3 separate regions of the Homo sapiens genome follow, and all the other regions are linked to region 1. Evidence: promoter capture Hi-C in 16 types of primary human blood cells and fetal thymus (Javierre and others, 2016). All regions are on one chromosome and are shown on one strand. Each heading gives the region's core, a stretch centred on a gene start or on the middle of the fragment in contact. The rest is flanking DNA. Distances are from core to core; before and after follow the strand shown.

The links. The method cuts DNA at HindIII sites, captures the fragments that hold promoters and counts their contacts. A CHiCAGO score of 5 or more calls a contact.
Region 2: a fragment that was not itself captured here is called in contact with the fragment with the promoter of ACAP3 in region 1 in 15 of 17 cell types (M0 macrophages, erythroblasts, naive CD4 T cells and 12 more); the score reaches 11.9 in M0 macrophages.
Region 3: a contact is called between the fragment with the promoter of NOC2L here and the fragment with the promoter of ACAP3 in region 1, in 3 of 17 cell types (naive CD4 T cells, total CD4 T cells and activated CD4 T cells). The highest score is 6.4, in naive CD4 T cells.

Annotation. Positions count from the first base shown.
Region 1 is chr1:1,304,921-1,309,380 of GRCh38, forward strand. It overlaps ACAP3 (ArfGAP with coiled-coil, ankyrin repeat and PH domains 3), which reads right to left and starts at 3,010. Exons shown (of 24, transcript NM_030649.3): 1 at 2,849-3,010. The coding sequence starts at 2,895. It overlaps PUSL1 (pseudouridine synthase like 1), which reads left to right and starts at 3,677. Exons shown (of 8, transcript NM_153339.3): 1 at 3,677-3,800; 2 at 3,995-4,052; 3 at 4,166-4,353. The coding sequence starts at 3,724. RefSeq lists silencers at 2,559-2,778, 2,829-2,998, 3,039-3,718, 3,939-4,008, 4,039-4,178 and 2 more. The HindIII fragment of the contact is 38,674 bases long and covers 1-4,460 here.
Region 2 is chr1:1,039,398-1,043,941 of GRCh38, forward strand. AGRN (agrin) reads left to right here. Exons shown (of 36, transcript NM_198576.4): 4 at 1,268-1,483; 5 at 1,776-2,000; 6 at 2,081-2,305; 7 at 2,559-2,765; 8 at 3,842-4,060; 9 at 4,141-4,335; 10 at 4,426-4,544. Among named protein-coding and RNA genes, the nearest start is that of AGRN, 22 kb to the left of the region's middle. RefSeq lists an enhancer at 149-827 and a silencer at 1,383-1,592. The HindIII fragment of the contact is 3,981 bases long and covers 1-3,604 here.
Region 3 is chr1:956,618-961,055 of GRCh38, forward strand. It overlaps NOC2L (NOC2 like nucleolar associated transcriptional repressor), which reads right to left and starts at 2,639. Exons shown (of 19, transcript NM_015658.4): 1 at 2,598-2,639; 2 at 2,312-2,464; 3 at 482-656; 4 at 277-408. The coding sequence starts at 2,623. It overlaps KLHL17 (kelch like family member 17), which reads left to right and starts at 3,967. Exons shown (of 12, transcript NM_198317.3): 1 at 3,967-4,183. The coding sequence starts at 4,077. RefSeq lists enhancers at 1,907-2,764, 2,423-2,532 and silencers at 2,643-2,902, 3,861-4,170, 4,191-4,438. The HindIII fragment of the contact is 14,217 bases long and covers 1-4,438 here.

The sequences.
Region 1 (4,460 bases), core at 1,760-4,259:
CTCCACACAATCGGCTCACTGGCTGTCCGGGCCATCTGGCCTCCTGGGGATTGGGCACCACAGGGCCCGGGCTGGGGCCAGGACTCCAGGTCTAGGGCAGGGGTCCAGGAGCAGAGGCCATCAGGGCCTACAGTCCCTCGTACCTTGCTACCCTGACCGGTGTCCCAGGCCTCGGGGGAGGGGCCTGTGGTTTACATGGGGCGTGTCCTCAATTAGGAGCTGGAGCTGCAGGCACCAGGCTGCCCCAGCCAGGGACCTTGAAGGGTCCCAGCCACCCCAGAAGGACACTAGGTCCTCTCTGAGCAGCCCTCTCTTGTTCCCAAGGGGCTAAGAGGACTCTGAATCCCGAAGCAGGGGGCGATGGAGGGAATCTCGCTGTGGTGTCCGCTGACCGCCAGTGCCCAGCCTGCAGCCCCTGGACCCTGACCTCTACCTCAGCTGGAGGATCCCAGAACAGAGAAGGGACCATCCTCCCAGGAGAAGGCAGCAGAGAGCGCCACACCCCAGGAGTTGCAGCCACCCCTGAGCAGGGCCGGATGCAGAGACAGCTGCACCCAGAGCTGCCGCCCTCGGGTTTGGGGCGCCCGTGTCCCTGGAGAGCCAGCAAGGGGGGATGGCTGCACCCAGGAGCTCACGGACGTGCTCATGGGGACAGGGTGGGCCCTGGCAGAGGCCCCGAGAGCCGCTCCCACTGCTGGGAGCCCCTCAGCTCTCCCTTCCTCAGTCCTGGGGACCTAGGCCTCCTCTGCTGTGCTCAGCCCAGGATTTCCTCAGCAGCTTGGAGGACGGGGAGGAGGGTGAGGCTGCCCCCCAACCAAAGCCATGACTCAGCGCCTGAAGCCCCACCCAGGGGAGGGGCACACTGAACAGAGGCCAGGCGGTTCCCCTACACGGGCTCCCCTGGCCTCCGGCCCACTGCACCTGGGCTGCCACTAGGCCCTCCCCAGACCAGGAGGGTGCGGGCAGGGTCCCCCTCTCCCGGGCTGGGGCGACCAGGCTCCACGTTACAGACCACATCTTCCCGCCCACCCTGCCTGGCCCCCCAACCTGGCGGTAGGCCAGGAAACTCAAGTTACGCCCTTAGGGCCTGCCCCCAGGACAGCCTCAGGGAGCCCCTCGAACCCCAGTTAAATCACAGCCTAACCCCAAAACCCACTGGGCCAGGCCATTCTCATCTCCCCACTCCAGTCCATGCCCCACAGGGGTGAGGCACTTTCCCAGGGCAGTCACTCTACGGCACCTACTGCAGCCCCACAGCCCCCATAACTGGCTCCTGTAACAGGCTCCCATGAGAGCCGGTTACCAGAGAGAAGGCCCAGAGGTGAGTGGGTTCCAGCACCCCCACACGACTGGAAGAGGGCAGTACAGGGCCGTCTGCGTGGAGGAGGAGGTCCATTAGGCTTCTGACGGAGGGGCCAGGGAGAAGGTGGGTGCTTCAGCCAGGGTCCAGCCCCCAGCAGGGAGGCCATGCCCACACCTCCCCACAGCCCGGGTCCTCAATGCAGGATCCTAGGGTGCTCAAGTTATTCAACCCCTTTTCCCAGGTCAGCAACAGAAGATGGGAGAGCAGAGGATGGCCCCAGTTCCTCTGCCCAGGGCTGGCGGCCACTCTCCTGGCTGGCCCTGAGCCTCCCACTCCAAGGCTCCTGAGCCTCCTGGTGAGGGCTCCAGGGATACAGAGGCTCCCCGTGCCTCCACACACATGCTGACTTGCCAGCAGATCCCAAGAGACCCAGCGCGCGCGTGCACACCCACACATACACAATCAAGCACACATGTGCAAACATGTTCATGCACAAACATGCCTGCACACACTGGTACCACACATACATGTGTGTTCAAGGAGACACTGCACAGACACGCATCAACATGTGTACCTAGTGATGGAACACGCGTGTACAAGGTGATGTGTCTATTGCTGACATGGCTAACACAGTACGTGAACCCACACAGACAGGTGGTGTGTGCACACGCTTGCGTGCACTCATCGGCAGGCTACATGCAGAAGCAAGCACAGCCCCGTGGCACAGCTCATCCACACGTCCTGTGCAAGGCCTGGTGTCCGGAGGGAGGCACGCAGAGGGGCAAAGTTCACAAGAGCGCACCCCGCACGAGCTCGTGCAGAGGAGGGGGCCTCACGCAGGTGCGCACTTGGGGATGCAGAGAGGTTTCTTTGCCTCCATTGTCGTTTGCCAAATGTCCACCAAGCAAAGCCGATGCACACTTGTGCACACGTCTGTGAACATGTAGTTCACGCAGGTGTACACGCCTGCACGCCACGAATGATGGAAAACATGCAGACTCGGTGTGCACACAACCCCTACCCCCTACCTGACCTTCCCCGCCGCTCTTCTCGGCCGCCACCCCTCCAAGCCCCTGGGTCATTCAAACCACTTCACGTTTCCAAGCACCCTACCCCAGGCCTTAAACGCGGCTCCAGCTGCCTGTTCCCCACGCGCTGCTCTGGACACAGGATCAAGTCAGAGACCAGGGGCCGACGCCCCCACGGACCCAGACGACCCTGGCCAGAGCTGGACTGCAGGGCCCGGGAGGGGCTCAGCCCAGTGGAGGTGCAGACACAGAGCGGGGGCGGACGGTCCCGAGGTGCCCACGGCTGCCCACGCGCACGCCCTCCACCCGGGGCGGCCGCACAGGGCAGGAGCGTCTTTTGTTCCAACCCCCGGGGCATGGCGGGGCGGGGCCGCCGCTTTGTCCGAGGCCGGTCCTCCAGCCCCTCCCCGGCGGCCGCGGCCCGGCCCGGCGCTGACCTCCCCACCCCGCCGCCGGGCACAAAGGCGACAGCGACGCCCCCGGCCTGCGCCCACCCCGGCGGCCCCGGGCGGCGCACCTGAAGCGCGGGGAGTCCTTGACGCACTCCTCGAACTCCACGGTCATGGCTGCGGCGGCCGCGGCGCTCACTGGCACGAGGACCGCGGCGCCGAGCGGCAGCCGCGCCGGCCCGGACCGCTCGTCCCGCCCGCGCCGCCTCGGCGCCCGCCCGCCCCGGAATGAGGCCGCCGCGCCGCGCCCCGCCCCGCCTGTCACCGCCGGGGAGCGTCGCCAAAGTCAGCCGCCCGCGCGCACCGCCCGCTGTCACTGCCGGGGAGCGTCGCCAAGGTCCGCCGCCCGCGCGCGCCGCCCGCTGTCACCGCCGGGGAGCGTCGCCAAACGCCTCTCGCAGCGTCCAGGGACCACCCCGGTCCGGAAGTGAGGCGGGGCCTGCCACGGCCGTCTCCGGGGACAGTCGGTGGAAATGTGGGGCGCGGGGAGGGCGCGGGGAGGGCGCGGGCCCGCCCGCTCCAACCATCCCGGCCGTTGCGCAACTCAGGGCGTTTGCAAAAACCACGTCTGGGAGGACTTGGCCGCAACGCGGCGAACGGGCGCGCTCGGGGAGTGTGGGCGGCGGCGAATGAATGAGCGAGTGAACGAATGCACGCCCGCGAGAGCGCGGGGTGACCGCGTGGTTGGTGCGCGCCTCCCGGGGCGCCGCGATAGAGGTAGAGCGCCTGCGCTCGGCGGCGGGCCGGCACTTTGCAGCCGCTCCCTAAGCCCGGCCCCGCCTCCGCTCCCCGACTCTGGCCGCCGTGGCGCGGTGCCACCGCGCAGGCGCAAGAGCGGCCGGGGCCGGGGGGGAGGGGGGGGGGGCGTGACCAGGCCGCGTCCGCGCGCGCGCAGGATTCCTGCGCTGGAGGCCGCCTCTGACGCCACCGGCTGGGCTCCGCCATGAGTTCGGCGCCGGCCTCAGGCTCCGTGCGCGCGCGCTATCTTGTGTACTTCCAGTACGTGGGCACCGACTTTAAGTAGGTTTCCCAGGCGCAGCGGCGGGCGCCACGTGGGCCCGGGCGGAGGCGGGAAGGAGGGCGCGGGCGGGCAGGCGGATGTCTCTGGACGCGGGTTCCAAACGTTCGGGGAAGGAAGCGGCCCTGGCCTCAGACGGCGGCGGAGACCCCAGGGCAGGGCGCCCCCGGTAACCTCCGCCCGCTTCTGCCCGCAGCGGGGTCGCGGCCGTCAGGGGCACTCAGCGCGCCGTCGGGGTCCAGAACTACCTGGAGGTGCGCTCAGCCGGTCACGGGACGCCCGGTGAGGGGTAAGGGGGAGGCTCCCGCCCGCGCGTCCCCGGGGTCCGGCCTCGCTCACCCGCCCGCCCCGCGGCTCGGTCCTGCAGGAGGCCGCCGAGCGGCTGAATTCCGTGGAGCCGGTCAGGTTCACCATCTCCAGCCGCACGGACGCCGGGGTCCACGCCCTGAGCAACGCGGCGCACCTGGACGTCCAGCGCCGCTCAGGCCGGCCGCCCTTCCCGCCCGAGGTCCTGGCCGAGGCCCTCAACACACACCTGCGGCACCCGGCCATCAGGTGAGCCCGCGACCTAAGCAGCCCTGGGGCTGTGCCTTCCCGACTCCATCTGTCGCGGGCGGAGGCTGGAGATCTGGACAGACTTCCTTGTCTGGTCGGAGCTCGAG
Region 2 (4,544 bases), core at 364-2,863, 270 kb before region 1:
CCCTCCTTGGAGATGGGGGGGGTTCCTCCTGCCCCATTTCACGAGCCTGCTGGGAAGTGATGGGTGGTAGCCACCCCTCTGACATGACTTATTAATGATAATTGGACCCAATTAAACATTTATTAAATCCAGACAGCTGCAGCCGCTAACGGACCCTTCCCTGATCCTGGGTGGGCCATGCTGGGGGTGGGGGTGCTCAGGATGGGCTGCCGCAGGGGCTCTGGGTTTTAACGTGCCTGAGGCAGCTTTGTTGGCCACGTTGAGGTCTGGTGATGGGACGTGTGTCAGGCGCTGTGGTCTGCAGCTGTAAGAACTAAAATGAGCAACAGTTCCTGCACCTCTCCAAGAAGGAAGTTCGCTTTGACAGAGAGTGAGGGCGATGGAGGAGGCAAGAGTGAGGTGGGGGGCCGGGGGATGCCCAGGGAGGAGGGGGCGTGTGGGTGCCCCAGGGATCCCAGGGAGCGATGGGAGGCTGCAGAAGGGCACAGGCCTGCCGCGGGTGGGGGGCTGGCCAGGGAGAATAGGAGATAGTAGAGGCGGAGGCCAGGAATTTGCACTTCTCCAGGGAAGCTGGGGAAGAGTTGGGGAGAGGGAGGCAAGAAGATTCCCCACCCATCTTAGGCGCAGGGAGCGGTCAGGGAGGCGCCAGAGGTGGGCCAGAGCTGTGACCTGGCCTCACACCCCGTCCCGGTGGGGCTCTCAGGCCCCTGAGGGCCAGACGCGGGACCTGGGTGCGACCCGGGCGGGAGGCGGCAGGGCTCAGCTGTGCTGGACGCTGCAGCAGCGCGGGAAGGGGCTCCCCCGGCTCCATGGGGTGAATCGGTGAGGGGCTCCGGTGCCGATGTGGAAGGAGCTCCTGAGCAGAACTGGGGCCTGGACTGCTTGTGCCCGAGTTGGTTTCGAGGCGTCTCTGCTTTTCGCTGGAGGCCCACGAGGTGGGTGGGAAGTGGGTGCTCGCCCGTCGCAGAAACAGAGTCGGGTGCCGCCTGCGGCAGACGCCCCTCTCCGCGCCTGCAGGTGCGGGGTGGGGGAGAAAGGTCATCCCTGGAGAGGCCCGGGGCTGGCGGGAATCCTCGGCGGGCGGGGTCTGCGAGGGGCAGGGCCGGTCCTGTGAGCGCACGCACGCGTGTCCGTGTCCGTGGTGGACCCCCGATGCGGCGCGGGGGCGGGTGAATGCGCGGGCTGCGAGCACGGCAAGGTCTCTCAGGCTTGTGGACGTGGGTACGGGCGTCTCGGCACCCTGAGCTTTCTCCCCTACCCGCCCCAGCGTGCCGGGGAATGCTGTGCGGCTTCGGCGCCGTGTGCGAGCCCAACGCGGAGGGGCCGGGCCGGGCGTCCTGCGTCTGCAAGAAGAGCCCGTGCCCCAGCGTGGTGGCGCCTGTGTGTGGGTCGGACGCCTCCACCTACAGCAACGAATGCGAGCTGCAGCGGGCGCAGTGCAGCCAGCAGCGCCGCATCCGCCTGCTCAGCCGCGGGCCGTGCGGTGAGCGGGGCGGGGCCGGTGCCTGGGGCGGGGAGGGGCGGGGCCTATGAGATGGAGCGAGGCTGGGAGGGGCTTCGGGGCCAGTGGGGCGGGGGCAGGGGCGGGGCCCGGCGGGGAGGAGCGGGGCTGGGAGGGGCCTGGGGGGCGGAGCGGGGCGGGAGCGGGGGCGGGGCCTGCGGGGCCCGGCGGGGAGGAGCGGGGCTGGGAGGGGCCTGGGGGGCGGAGCGGGGCGGGAGCGGGGCGGGAGCGGGGGCGGGGGCGGCCCGTCTGACCGGCAAAGCCCCGCCCGCAGGCTCGCGGGACCCCTGCTCCAACGTGACCTGCAGCTTCGGCAGCACCTGTGCGCGCTCGGCCGACGGGCTGACGGCCTCGTGCCTGTGCCCCGCGACCTGCCGTGGCGCCCCCGAGGGGACCGTCTGCGGCAGCGACGGCGCCGACTACCCCGGCGAGTGCCAGCTCCTGCGCCGCGCCTGCGCCCGCCAGGAGAATGTCTTCAAGAAGTTCGACGGCCCTTGTGGTGAGCGCGGCGGCGGGCGCACGGCTCGAGCTCTGTGGGCGCGCGGCGACAGCGTCCTGACTCCTGCCCTCGACCCCCAGACCCCTGTCAGGGCGCCCTCCCTGACCCGAGCCGCAGCTGCCGTGTGAACCCGCGCACGCGGCGCCCTGAGATGCTCCTACGGCCCGAGAGCTGCCCTGCCCGGCAGGCGCCAGTGTGTGGGGACGACGGAGTCACCTACGAAAACGACTGTGTCATGGGCCGATCGGGGGCCGCCCGGGGTCTCCTCCTGCAGAAAGTGCGCTCCGGCCAGTGCCAGGGTCGAGGTGAGCGGCTCCCCCGGGGGAGGGCTCCGGCCAGTGCCAGGGTCGAGGTGGGCGGCTCCCCCGGGGGAGGGCTCCGGCCAGTGCCAGGGTCGAGGTGGGCGGCTCCCCCGGGGGAGGGCTGCGGCCAGTGCCAGGGTCGAGGTGGGCGGCTCCCCTCTGGGAGGGCCGCCTGCTCCCCTGCTCCCTGCACATCCCAGGGCAGGGATGGAGGGTGCTCCAGCCTCTCCGTGACTCCCTCACCCCTGCGTCCTAGACCAGTGCCCGGAGCCCTGCCGGTTCAATGCCGTGTGCCTGTCCCGCCGTGGCCGTCCCCGCTGCTCCTGCGACCGCGTCACCTGTGACGGGGCCTACAGGCCCGTGTGTGCCCAGGACGGGCGCACGTATGACAGTGATTGCTGGCGGCAGCAGGCTGAGTGCCGGCAGCAGCGTGCCATCCCCAGCAAGCACCAGGGCCCGTGTGGTGAGCGCCCCGGGGTGGAGGCCAGGCGGGGTGGGCTGCTCCTGCGTCAGTCCCTGCCTGGACATCACATGCCATCTTCATCCATCATGTTCCTCTTGGGGTCCTGGGAGTGGGCCGGTCCCTCTGGGAAGGCTCTGGGGAGGGTGGAGCCTGTGTGCGGAGGGTACCTGGATACCTGGGGGCTGGTGAGGCAGAGGCGGGGCCTTGTCCAGGCTCCCTGGTCCCTGACCTCAGCCACGCCCTCCCTGGGAGTCCTCTGGCCTGTCCGCATGTCTCCACGCTGTAAGCACAGGCTGTTGGGGTGGGCAGGCTGGACACAACACCAGGGTCCTCACTCTTGGGACATGGGCAGCCGTCGGCCGTTTTGGAGGCAGTGTCAGGACTTGAAGGGCCAGGGGGAGGCAGTGGCCGTCGTGTCCCGTCGTGTTCGTCTTGGTCAGTTCGCCCATCTTCTGGTCTTTCTCTCTGCGTCTGTCTCTTCTCTTTGGTCTCTTCTTCCCTGTCGGCTCCGCCTCTTGTGTCTTCCAGCCTGACCTGCTGGCAGGATGAGGTGCCGTGCCTGCCCTCCAGGAGCCCGCAGCCCGAGGTCTGCCCCTGGTGCGGCAGGGGGGGTGGCTTGCTGCTGCCTGGCCTTGTGGTCCTCAGAGCAAGTGGACAGACACCTCCTCCCCCGTGCAGCCCTGGGTGTGACTCTGGGGGTGCAGGCTCCTCCCACCCACAGAGAGCCCCCCCACATGCATGGGTGTCCTGGGGATGCTGGTGGTCAGGGGTCAGTGGCCTGGGCAGGCTGGGGAAGCCTGGCCCTCCCATAGCCTGCTGTGGACAATCAGGAAGCCCCAAGCTTGGGGGCAGCCTCGCCCGCAGCCACCGGGGACTCCTGGGTGTGTGTTCCGCTCGCCTCTGCCGCGTGTCTGTCCCTTTCTCTGCCGTGTCTGCTGTGCATCTGGCCCTTCTCCTGTGTTCTCTCTTCCTCCACCATCCCCTCCCTGGAAGAGGGACTGCTGCGTGGGGCTGGGGGCTTTGCCTGCAGCGGAGGGGGGGCTTGTGGGACCACTGAGCCCCTGTGTCCTTCCCAGACCAGGCCCCGTCCCCATGCCTCGGGGTGCAGTGTGCATTTGGGGCGACGTGTGCTGTGAAGAACGGGCAGGCAGCGTGTGAATGCCTGCAGGCGTGCTCGAGCCTCTACGATCCTGTGTGCGGCAGCGACGGCGTCACATACGGCAGCGCGTGCGAGCTGGAGGCCACGGCCTGTACCCTCGGGCGGGAGATCCAGGTGGCGCGCAAAGGACCCTGTGGTCAGTGGCGGGTGAGGGGTCTGGTGGGGGTCGGGGAGAGAGAGGTTCCTGGTCGCCTGGTGATGGAAGCTCCTCCCCAGACCGCTGCGGGCAGTGCCGCTTTGGAGCCCTGTGCGAGGCCGAGACCGGGCGCTGCGTGTGCCCCTCTGAATGCGTGGCTTTGGCCCAGCCCGTGTGTGGCTCCGACGGGCACACGTACCCCAGCGAGTGCATGCTGCACGTGCACGCCTGCACACACCAGATCAGCCTGCACGTGGCCTCAGCTGGACCCTGTGGTGAGTGAGGCCCTGGGGCCGGGCGGGCCAGGGTCCTGTGCCTCCCTCAGCCTGGGCCTGCCGACCCCTGCCTGGCTCTGTCTCCTGCAGAGACCTGTGGAGATGCCGTGTGTGCTTTTGGGGCTGTGTGCTCCGCAGGGCAGTGTGTGTGTCCCCGGTGTGAGCACCCCCCGCCCGGCCCCGTGTGTGGCAGCGACGGTGTCACCTAC
Region 3 (4,438 bases), core at 1,389-3,888, 350 kb before region 1:
CCCCTGGAATCTACCCAAAAGTGAACACACAGTCCTGGGGCAACCAAGCAAGCAGGAGGAGCAACGTGTTGTCACTTGCGCTGAAGAAGGCTCCAAGCGTCCCCTGCGTGGAGAACAGCCCCTCCCACCAGCACAGCCTCAGGCGCCTCAGGTGAGGCAAGGCCAGATCTCTGCCTGGGCACCCAGCTGCCCGCCCCTCGCTGCTGCTCACCTCAGGTGAGGCAAGGCCAGATTTCTGCCTGGGCACCCAGCTGCCCGCCCCTGGCTGCTGCTCACCTTTGCTGCCTGCTTCCATCTCTCAACCATGGCGACGGTCACAGGAACAGAATTCTTCTTCCCCTTCAGCCCTCTGGGGACTCTGTCCCCATCTTCTCCTTCCTCCGCTCCATCCTCCTCCTCACTGGCTTCCTGCACAGAAAGGCTGAGCTGAAGGAGAGTGTAGAGACAAGTGCCCCCCTTCTGGTTTGGCCCACGCCCTCACCTCCAGCACATCTGGCAGGGAGTGGAACGGCCCCTCTTCCTCCTCAGAGCTGTCCGAGTCGCTGAAGTTTAGCAGGCTCTGGTCATTCTCCTGCAGGAACTTGTAGAACTCGGGGTCTCTGTCCTTCAGCCGAGAGAGCTGGTCTTTGTGCTCAGAGGCACGGCCTTTACGCCGGCTGAGGAGGCAGAAGTCAGCGACCCCAGTGGGAAGTGGAAGTAGAGGGGGCGGGGAGTGGCCTACAGGGTCAGTCTACTCCCTTCACAAGGGTTACCAACTAGCAAGACAGGATTGCCAGGAGGTACGTTTTTGGCAGACTCACGTCTCCTACCCAACAACCTCTACAACATACCCTCAAACACACTACACAGGCCCCCCAGCCGCGGTCTTCCCTGGACTTGCTGTGCCTGCGCCCTGCGCTACACAGGCCCCCAGCCGCGGTCTTCCCTGGACTTGCTGTGCCTGTGCCCTGCGCTACTTTTGCCTGATGGTGGCTTCACCCTTCCAGAGGCTCAGACTAAAGGCAAATCTCTGTCTCTAATACCCAGCACGCAACTTGTCATCAGATCTCATCAGCAACACCTTCAAAACCGTTCGTGCCTCCTCTCAAACCACCACATAGTTCAATTCTCAGTTAACCTAAAGGTCTCTCTGTTTCCACCCTTGTCACCTACAAGGCACTCCACCGCTCAAACCCAGAAGTAACTCCCTGTTTTACGAGGCAATCTTATGACGGTCTACGGCACCTGGCTCTTCATCACCCTTCTGGGCTCATCTACCCCTATTCACCCCCTCACTCCTGCCGTAGCCACGTTTACCTCTGTACTCTCCCCAAATGCTCCCACTGCAAGGCTTTTGCTGTTTTCTGCTGCCTGAAATCCTAAGACACGTTTCCCCTACTGTCTGTGTGGCCTCCTTGTTCGAGGTCTTTATTCAGACGTCATCTTCTCAAACAACCACCTCCGCTTTTTTTTTTTTTTTTTTTTCTCCTGAGGCGGAATCTCACTCTGTCGCCCAGGCTGGAGTGCAGTGGCGCAATCTCCACTCACCGCAACCTCCGCCTCCCGGGTTCAAGCGATTCTCCTGCCTCAGCCTCCCGAGTAGCTGGGACGACAGGTGTGTGTCACCACGCCAGGCTAATTTTTGTATCTTTTGATTTCTTTCTTTTTCTTTTTGAGATGGAGTCTCACTCTCTCACCCAGGCTGGAATGCAATGGTGCCATCTCGGCTCACTGCAACCTCCGCCTCCCAAGTTCAAGCGATTCTCCTGCCTCAGCCTCCCGAGTAGTTGGGATTACAGGTGCCCACCACGCCCGGCTAATTTTTATATTTTTAGTAGAGACATGATTTTTCCGTGTTGGTCAGGCTGGTCTCGAATTCCTGACCTCAGGTAATCTGCCCGCCTCGGCCTCCCAAAGTGCTGGCATTACAGGCGTGAGCCACCGAGCACAGCCTCCGCTCCTTCTAACAGAGCAACTCGGCTCCCCTGCAACTCTCTCTTCAGCCCCTCTGTCCTTCCTTTCCCTCCCCAGCACTTATCTCTCTTCTACCGAACTGCAGGCGGTGATTTCACCCAAGAACGTGAGAGTTCTCCTAGATCGGGAAGAGATTTTTGCACAACTCACCAACATACGCTCCCTGCCTAGGACAGAGTTTGGCACGGAACAGGAGCTCAGTAAACATCGGATGAAAGAGTAAGTTAAGCTGAAAGGACTGGGGGGCAGAGGTCGGCGATCCTTAGGCCTTGGCCCTGAGACCCCAGGCGAGGTCAGCAACCCAACCGGGGTGGGACAGGACGAGCAAGAGGTTCTGCTCACGCATGTCCCCACTAACCTGGCCGAGGGGCTCCCGCCCGGCTTATCCGGACTCCGGGCAGCCTCGCGTGCTTCCCGTGTCTCCGCTTGTGGAGAATTTTCGGACTCGGATTCGGACTCGGAGTCAAAGCCCGAAGCTAGGAACTCGTCCACCGTCAGCTCCGCCAGGCGCCTGCGGGTCACGCAGGAGTCACAGCTGCCCGCACGCCCAGCTCGCCCCAGCCCCGCTGAGAGGAGCAAGAAAAGCCCCCTTGGATACAGACACCCACCGGGAGGCCAAATCGGCCCTCGGACCCGCGGCTTACCTCTTGCGGCTCCCCGCAGCTGCCATGACACCAACCCGAAGCGTGCACCCCACTTCCGGCCCCAGAATGCCGCGCGGCTGCGCACTTCCGCCGCCCAGGCCCCGCCCCTTTCCCCGCCCCGCCGCGCCACGCCCAGCCGAGTGGCTCTATGGTTCTCCGACCGCAACGCCGGCGGCCTCAGGGCGGGAGGGCGCGTTCGCGTGCTCGGTGCGGGCAGCCCCGGTGGGGCCCAGATGCGCCTCCCGCTCGGCGCCCGGCTCCGTAGGACGCGGTGACGCCGGTGTCCGCCCCGGGGAAGACCGGGAGTCCCGCCGCGCCCGCAGCCCACCCGGCGCTCCGAAGGCACGCGCCTGCGAGGACGCCAGACTGCAACGGCGGGGCTCCTATGCAAAGAGCTCCCACAAATCAACAATAAAAAGCAGGGAGTCCAGTGGAAAACGCGAGGGGCAGTGGGAACCGCACTGATGTCGCCAGCTCGACAAAAGACGGGCGACCCGAGGGCCAGGCTGGCTTCGCCTCCGATCCGCGGAGACCGGGCCAGCGCCACGAACACCACGCAGGGCGCTCCCCGTCCATGGCCCTCTGGGTGCCGACCGCGGCTCTTCCCGGGGACGCCGCACGGGACGAAGACGGTGGGGAGGCCGGCGCCTTCCTTCCCGCTACCAGCCTGACACCCGGGCCCCCGGGCCTGGACAGCCAGACCCCGCGACAAGGGCGCCGCGGGGCGCAGGCACGGCTCCCCCAGCCCTGGCGCTGAGGGGGCGCGTGAGGCGAACACGGGCGGATTGGCCTCGGGGTCCCATTCGACTTCTTGGTGCCGCGGGGCCCCGGGGCTCCCCGGAGGAGAGCAAGTTAGGGGGTCGGGGGAGCGGGGATGGCTTCCGGGGGAGGAGGAGGGCGAGGCCTGGGGGGCTCCTCGGAGGAGGAAGAGGGCGAGGCTTAGGGGGGCTCCTTGGAGGAGGAGGAGGGCGAGGCTTAGGAGGGCTCTTCGGAGAAACAGGAGGGCGAGGCCTGTGGGGGGCTTCCCGGGGAAGAAGGAAGGCGAGACCTAGGGGGGCTTCCCGGAGGAGGAGGAGGAGGAGGGCTAGGCCGGGGGCTTCCCAGAGGAGGAGGATGGCGGGGCCTGGGGGGCTTCTCGGAGAAGGAAGATGGCGAGGCCTAGGGGGGCTTCTCGGAGGAGGAGGAGGGCGAGGCCTGGTGGGGGGCTTCCCGGAGGAGGAGGATGGCGGGGTCTGGGGGTGCTTCTCGGAGGAGGAGGCGGACCCGGGGCGCAGCGCTGGAAGAATCCGCGTCCAACGTCTAGTCCCCGAAGCCTCTCGGGAGGCGGGGCGGGCGGCGCCGAGAAACAGCGGCTGCGGGCGGGAGCGGCGGGAGTGAGCGACACAGAGCGGGCCGCCACCGCCGAGCAGCCCTCCGGCAGTCTCCGCGTCCGTTAAGCCCGCGGGTCCTCCGCGAATCGGCGGTGGGTCCGGCAGCCGAATGCAGCCCCGCAGCGAGCGCCCGGCCGGCAGGACGCAGAGCCCGGAGCACGGCAGCCCGGGGCCCGGGCCCGAGGCGCCGCCGCCTCCACCGCCGCAGCCGCCGGCGTGAGTGGGCGGGGGTCGGGGCGCGGGGGGCGGCCTCGGGACCTGCGCGGCCCCCGCCCTCGCGTCCGCTCGCAGAAGGGGCGGGGGCCGCTTCCGAGGGCCGGGGGAGGTCGGGACTCAGGTGCGGAGCGGGGTCGGCCCGGAGTAGGTTCCCCACCCGCGCCCCGCGCGCCCAGGACGCGACTCCCGCTGCGGTCCCGAGAGGGCGGCTAGGGACGCGGAGGAGCTGAGCTCGTGGGGGCGCCGGGAAGCGGG